2 separate regions of the Homo sapiens genome follow, and region 1 is linked to region 2. The links are contacts of gene promoters, found by promoter capture Hi-C in human tissues and cell types (Jung and others, 2019). All regions are on one chromosome and are shown on one strand. The core of a region is centred on a gene start or on the middle of the fragment in contact, and the rest is flanking DNA. Distances in the headings are between cores, read along the strand shown.

Region 1 (2,983 bases), core at 417-2,916, 120 kb after region 2:
GGCAGCCCCCTCAGACCTGGGCACTGCTCTTAGCTCCTCTGCCACCCTCAAGAAAACACAGGAGCTGCCTGCTGCTATGAGGACCTCATTGTTCTCCAGAGCAGCCTCTCACCCTGACCCCTTCCCAGAGCCCAATCCATAGTGTGTGGGTGGATGGGGATGGAGGTGAGATCGAGAGCTGGGCTTTAGCGCGCATACCCTTAGGGAGGCTAGATGTCTACTCTGCCCCCAAGCCCCATCGGGCCCCAGCTCGCCACTCCAAGTCCCTCCTGGCGTGAGCGAGGAAGCGCCCTGAGGATGACACGCCAGCTACACCCTCCTCCCCCGGAGGACCTAGTTTTCAGCACAGGCCACCTGGCCACCAGTTCCACAGCCCTGTGAGTGTTCACTGGTCTTTCTTTCAGCTGGTCGGTCCGCTCTCTGCTCCTCCCCTCCCTTCTGCTCCTTCAGCTCCATGCTGCTCTCCTGCTGCCACTGGCCCCAGAGCCCACACAACCTCCTCAGCAGCTCATGAAAGTCGGCTTGGAACCCGGAGGAGGAGAAGTAGTAGACAAAGGGGTCGACACAGGAGTTCAGGGTGCTGAGAAGCGTCACGTAGATCCTCCACACCGGGCTTTCACCGCAGATATAGCCCACGACATGGGACACGTTGTAGGGCCCAAAGCAGACAAGGAAGTTGAGCAGCGTGGCCGCCACCAGCCCCGCCACCCTCCTCTGCCGGCGGTGGCTGCCCCCTCTGCCGAGGATCCACACCAGGCGGCTGTAGCAGTAGCTGGTGATGATCAGCGGGACCACAAAGAGGACCACAGCCATCTCCAGCCGCACGGGCAGGAGGATGGCTAGCTGGTCCTTCCAGAACTCCAGGTAGCAGGTCCCATTGGTGCCCTGGCTGTGGGAGATGTCCCCTGAGAATTCTATGACGTAGACCACGCTGCAGTGAGCAGAGGCCAACAGCCAGCAGGCCACACTCACCAGACCTGCCTGCCCCAGCCTCGGCCGGGTCTTGTACCACAGTGGGTGGGCCACACTCAGGAAGCGTTCAATGCTCACAGCTGCCAGGAAGAGGGCGGTGAGATAGATGGTGGTGAAGAAGATGAATCCAGAGAGTGGGCAGAGGATGAAGGGCAGGGGCCAGTGCATGCCATTGGCTGCCTCCACCATGCGGAAAGGCAGGAACAGCAGCAGGAGCAGGTCCGAGGCGGTCAGGTTGAGCAGGAGCACGTCCACGGCCACCGGGCGGCACCGCAGCTTGCCCACGAAGACCACCAGGGCCAGCAGGTTGAGGGGGAGCCCCACCAGGAAAGTGAGAAGGTACACCGAGAAGACGAACCAGTGATTGCCGGAGAAGTAGGACTGGTCGGGGCCTGTATCCATGGTGGTGGCCACTGGTGAGAGAGAGTAACATGGAGTTGGTAGTGGGGGCCCTAACGGCCTCTGGCCAGCAGCATCTCCCCTAAAAGGGCACGAGGTCACTACGCCCACCCCTCTTGTCTCTGGGTGCCTTCCAGGCGGGGTCAGCCTGCCTGTCTTCCTGAGCATGCCCTGTCCCCTGTCCCTTCCCCAGCAGAGAAGCACCAAGGTGCTCCTCCACCCAGCCCCTCGGGCCCAGGCTCACCTGCTTCTTTGAGACCCCAAATGCTCTGCCGCACAGCACCTTGCTGTCTCTCCAGACCTAGTGCAGTTGGCTATTTATCCGGCAGAACTGATAAAGACCTGGCCGTGCCCATGACATCACTCACTGTTGAGCAGTGGCACAAAGATGCCTTGAGCTCCGTTGCCAGGGCTGGTCAGTATGCAAAAAGGGGAACAAATTCCACAACTGCGTGCCTCCCTCCTTGCGCAGCCTCAGCTGGGATGCTCCAAACAGGCCCCAGCTGACGTCTTCTTCCCCTCCCCTCTCTTCCACTTGAATTTTGTCTGATTCTCTAGAATGGCACTTATCCAGTTTGCCTTTTAAGGGCACAAAGCATGAGCCAGTGACAGACTGGACTCCGTGAGGTCTGTTCCTTCCTGACTTTGTGATGTGGGGGAAGAGATGTGTCTCTTCTTCCTCCCCTACAGAACAGGGATTGTCATAGTACCTGTACCATATTTCAAAGCATGAACACATGCAGATTAAAACATATATACAGGTAGATTAAAATGTTAATAATATAGGTCAATTGCTTTTTGAAAATATTTATTTTAGATTCGGGAGCACATGTGCAGGTTTGTTACATGGGTATATTGCATAATACTGAGGTTTGGGCTTCTATTGAACCCATTACCAAAATTGTGAACATAGTACCCAATAGGCAGTTTTCCCACCCTTGTCCTCCGCCCTCCCTCCCCCACTTTGGAGTCCCCACTGTCTATGGTTTCCATCTTTAATGTTTGCGTGTACCCATTGTTTACCTCCCACTTAAAAGTGAGAACATACAGCATTTGATTTTCTGTTTCTGTGTTAATTCACTTAGGATCATTCACTTAGGCCTCCAGCTGCATTTATGTTGCAGCAAAGGACATGATTTCATTCTTTTTTATAGCTGCATAGTATTTCGTGATGTGTATGTACCATTTTTTCTTTATCTAGTCCACCATTGATGGGCACCTAAGTTGATTCCATCACTTTGCCATTGTGAATAGTGCTGTGACAAACATACACATGCAGGTGTCTTTTTGGTAGAATGATTCCATTTTATGAAAAATGACATTGATAATTTGGTAGGAATTGGGTGGAATCTGTAGATTGCTTTGAGCAGTATGGACATTTTAATGATATTGATTCTTCTAATCCATGAACATGGAATGTTTTTCATTTATTTGTGTTTTTTAGTTCTCCTTGTAGAGATCTTTCACTTTCACTTCCTTGGTTAGATGTATTCCTAGGTATTTTATTTTTGTGTGTGGCTATTGTAATTGGGATTCTGTTCTTTATTTGGCTCACAGCTTGACAATTGTTGGTATATAGTAATGCTACTGATTTTTATACACTGATTTTGCA
Region 2 (3,314 bases), core at 721-3,220:
TCGTAAAGGTTGTTCATGGATGCCGTCCAGCCCTCCCACCCAGGGCCACCGCCACCGTGCATTGCATCAGGTTGTGTTGATAAGGTCTTGCTTTTCCCTGACAGCGCCGGTCCATGTCCCAGCCCCTCCCTGTTACAGCAGGAGCCGGTTTGGCCACCTGAACCTCACTGTGGAGAAGGCTGCTTGACTAGGACATTGTGTCACAGTGAGGTGATCCAACTTCCAAACTGGGGGTGGGGCAAGGTGGGTTAGGGCAATGACATGGAGTGGGCACTCCAGGTTCAGGGTACCTGGATCCCATCTCCAACTGGGCACCCTAAGAGCTGTTTTTTGTTCCCTGTTCCTTGTCATCTTAGCTCAAGACAGTCATTTCTCTGAAGACCCAAGAGTAAAAGACGGGCAGTTGGAAAATGGAAAGGTTCAGCCCCATGAAAGGAAAATGTACACTGTGGCTGAAGGATGCCTGAATACTAAGTCTAACGTATCATATCTGACCAATGCTGACTCTACCTGGGTTCTGTGTGAGCCATGGTTCTAGGGGGATGTAAAGCTGATCAAGATACAGCTCCTGACCTCAAGGAACTTGATACTCTAAAAGGGAAACAAGGCGAGAACATGACTTACTTAGATACAATGCCAGAGACATACAAACGAATGAATATGGGAATTCTGTGAAAGGAAAGGTGTGGAGAGAAGGACTGGGCATTGCAGGAAAAATCTGGGAAGCTTCATCCAAGATGAGTGTTGGGTTCTGAGAACTGGAGATGAGAGAAGGCCATGTTAGGAATAAGGAACAGCATGGCCGGATGCTTTGAAGAGGGAAAAAGAAGGATATAGTTGGTAAGGGGTCTAATTTGGCCAGAATGTGAGGTATGTACAAAGCTAGTAAAGGAAGAAGTTATAAAGGTGGGTTGAGTTCAGAGCATGGACCACCTTCAATGCCAAGCTAAAGAGTTTACATAGATTTTGGTAGGGTGGAAGAAAAGGCCTGAATGAGCATGGAGCGCAGGCTCACACCTATAGTCCTTTGGGAGGTCAAGGCAGGCGGACCCCTTGAGTCCAGGAGTTTGAGGCCAGCTTGGGCAACATGGCGAGACATTTTCATCTCTACGAGAAAATTAAAAAAAAAAAAAGCTGCAACATCTCTACAAGAAAATAAAAAAGTTAGCTAGGTGAGGTGATGCGTGCCTCTAGTCCCAGCTACTAGGGAGACTGAGGTGGGAGGATTGCTTGAGCCTGGGAGGTCAAGGCTGCAGTGAGCTGTGATCACACCACTGCACTCCAGTCTGGGCAACGAGTGAGAGCCTGTCAAAAAAAAAGAAAAGAAAAGAAAAGAAAAAGCCTGAATTCTAAGAGAGGAATGAGGGATATAACGAAAAGAGACAAAGACAAAAGGAGAGGTTGCTTGGGTACCACTGCCAATCCCTTGGAGGGACAGGTCCAACCTGTCTCTGTCCCAGCCCCATCTGCATGAAGAGACCCATTGCAGTGTTACCTTCCACGTGCCTGGGGCAGAATGCGAATTGAGAAATCCGAGGCAAATGAGGAACAGTCCATGCCTCCCCCTCCCAGAGCCCCGGGGGTGGGCGACAAGATCTGGGGGTGAGTCAGTGGGGTGGGGACCCCATTTCTGTGCTCATCTGCCTCCTTGGCAATATAAAGAGCAAGCACTGAGGCCCCGCCTCAGAGCACCCCAAACTTGACGCCATGAAGATCCCGGTCCTTCCTGCCGTGGTGCTCCTCTCCCTCCTGGTGCTCCACTCTGCCCAGGGAGCCACCCTGGGTGGTCCTGAGGTGAGCACGTCACCTGCATTTTTATTCTTATACGTGTTACCCACCTACCCCTCCATCTCTCTACCTCCTGTCCATTCCTGGATAAGTGGCTCTTAGTTTTGGATTCTGATGGGGGCTGAAGAAACTGGGGCTCTGAGGAAGGGAGGAGGGAACAGAGCATCCCTGGGGAGACATTTGGGACAGAGATGCTCCTCTTTCTGGAAGGGATGGTGAAGTGTGTTGGGGAGGCTCGTGTACTGAACCTTGGGACTGAGTGGGTGGTCTGGGTTCAGACTATCTCCACCATGGGCTCTCAAGAGTGTTCACCCATTCCGTTCCAGCTGCACACATGCCTGGGGACGTGCAGGGGAAGAGGGGGAACTGGAGAACGGCAATGTGAGGCAGAGCAGCTCCAAACCCAGGCCTGCATCCACATGGGCAGCAGGTGGAGAGGGTGAAGCAAAGCAAAAAACTAGCTAGTTCTGCCTGCAGCTGACTTAACTCAAAGAGGAGTGGGGCTGGGGTGTTCTGGAGACACCCCTGCTTAGCTCCTCTTTGCTTCATTTGTGCCCCTGGGAGTGGTGCCCAGGTGACGGGTGGCTCCCTGCTGTCTCTGGAGCATAGGCCACAGTGAGAATCTTTACCATCCAGTCCTCAGCCAGAGAGGAATCCTGATGCCTATTCCGGATTTAAAAGTCTAAGACAGGGGCACAGGCTCAGCTGCTAAGGACCAAGCCAGTGGTGTCACTGAGCTGGGGGGGCTGTCAGGGCCTGAGGTGAAATGGGGCCAACTTTCCCAGTCTGAAAGGGCAGCTTTCACCCCACCTGACGCCATGGATTGGGAAGATGTGCCTAGAGTTTTACATTTTTCAGGGGAAACTAGAAATCTGGATGAATTTATGAATTCTTACTAATTCAAAATGTCTAATTCAAACCAAAAAACAAATGACCAAATTTTTATGAGATCTAAGCATCTGGATCCAGCCTGCGGGCTCCGTGTTGGGCTCTGTCATGGGGAAGACACGATGGGACACACTGAGGCCTGGGGTGGGGTCCCCATGGAGGGGGATTATGGAACCTCCAACAGTGGTGGCAATAAATCCACAAAGCAAAGCAACCTCGATCAGTGAGAGGCAGGCGGGTCACCTCAGCAGCTGGGCTCCCACCTGCTCGCAAATCTTTCCCATCCAGCTATACGGACTGAGCGTGGGTGTCTCCAGAACACCCCACCTCTTAGACTTAAGTCAACTGCAGGACAGCACTAGCTAGCTTTTCCGGAGAGGAATGCTCGGCTCCAGGCTTTCTGCCTGCTGCCCATGGTGACACTGCTTACATGTACCATTCTCCAATTCCCCCTCCTCACCCTGCACATCCGCCAACCATGTGCGCGACTGGAACGGAGACCATGGTGGGGAATGGGTTGCGTTCTTTCGGGGACTGGGCTGTGGATGAAGGCAGAGCTGGCAGACAGGGATGTGGGCAAGGGCCCTGGCATCACGTGACCCCCTGCCGCCTTTTCTCCCTCTCCTTTTCCAGGAAGA

Evidence for each region. Contacts are between HindIII fragments. The study calls those that stand out against the background at their distance.
Region 1: the fragment with the promoter of GPR42 here is called in contact with a fragment that was not itself captured in region 2 in 3 of the 25 tissues and cell types used here (H1 embryonic stem cells, lymphoblastoid cells and spleen).

Annotation. Positions count from the first base shown.
Region 1 is chr19:35,369,751-35,372,733 of GRCh38, reverse strand. It overlaps GPR42 (G protein-coupled receptor 42), which reads right to left and starts at 1,666. Exons shown (of 2, transcript NM_001348195.2): 1 at 1,616-1,666; 2 at 1-1,385. The coding sequence starts at 1,374. The coding sequence ends at 334. The HindIII fragment of the contact is 14,423 bases long and covers 1-2,983 here.
Region 2 is chr19:35,488,836-35,492,149 of GRCh38, reverse strand. KRTDAP (keratinocyte differentiation associated protein) reads left to right here and starts at 1,686. Exons shown (of 6, transcript NM_207392.3): 1 at 1,686-1,794; 2 at 3,310-3,314. The coding sequence starts at 1,708. The HindIII fragment of the contact is 6,388 bases long and covers 1-3,314 here.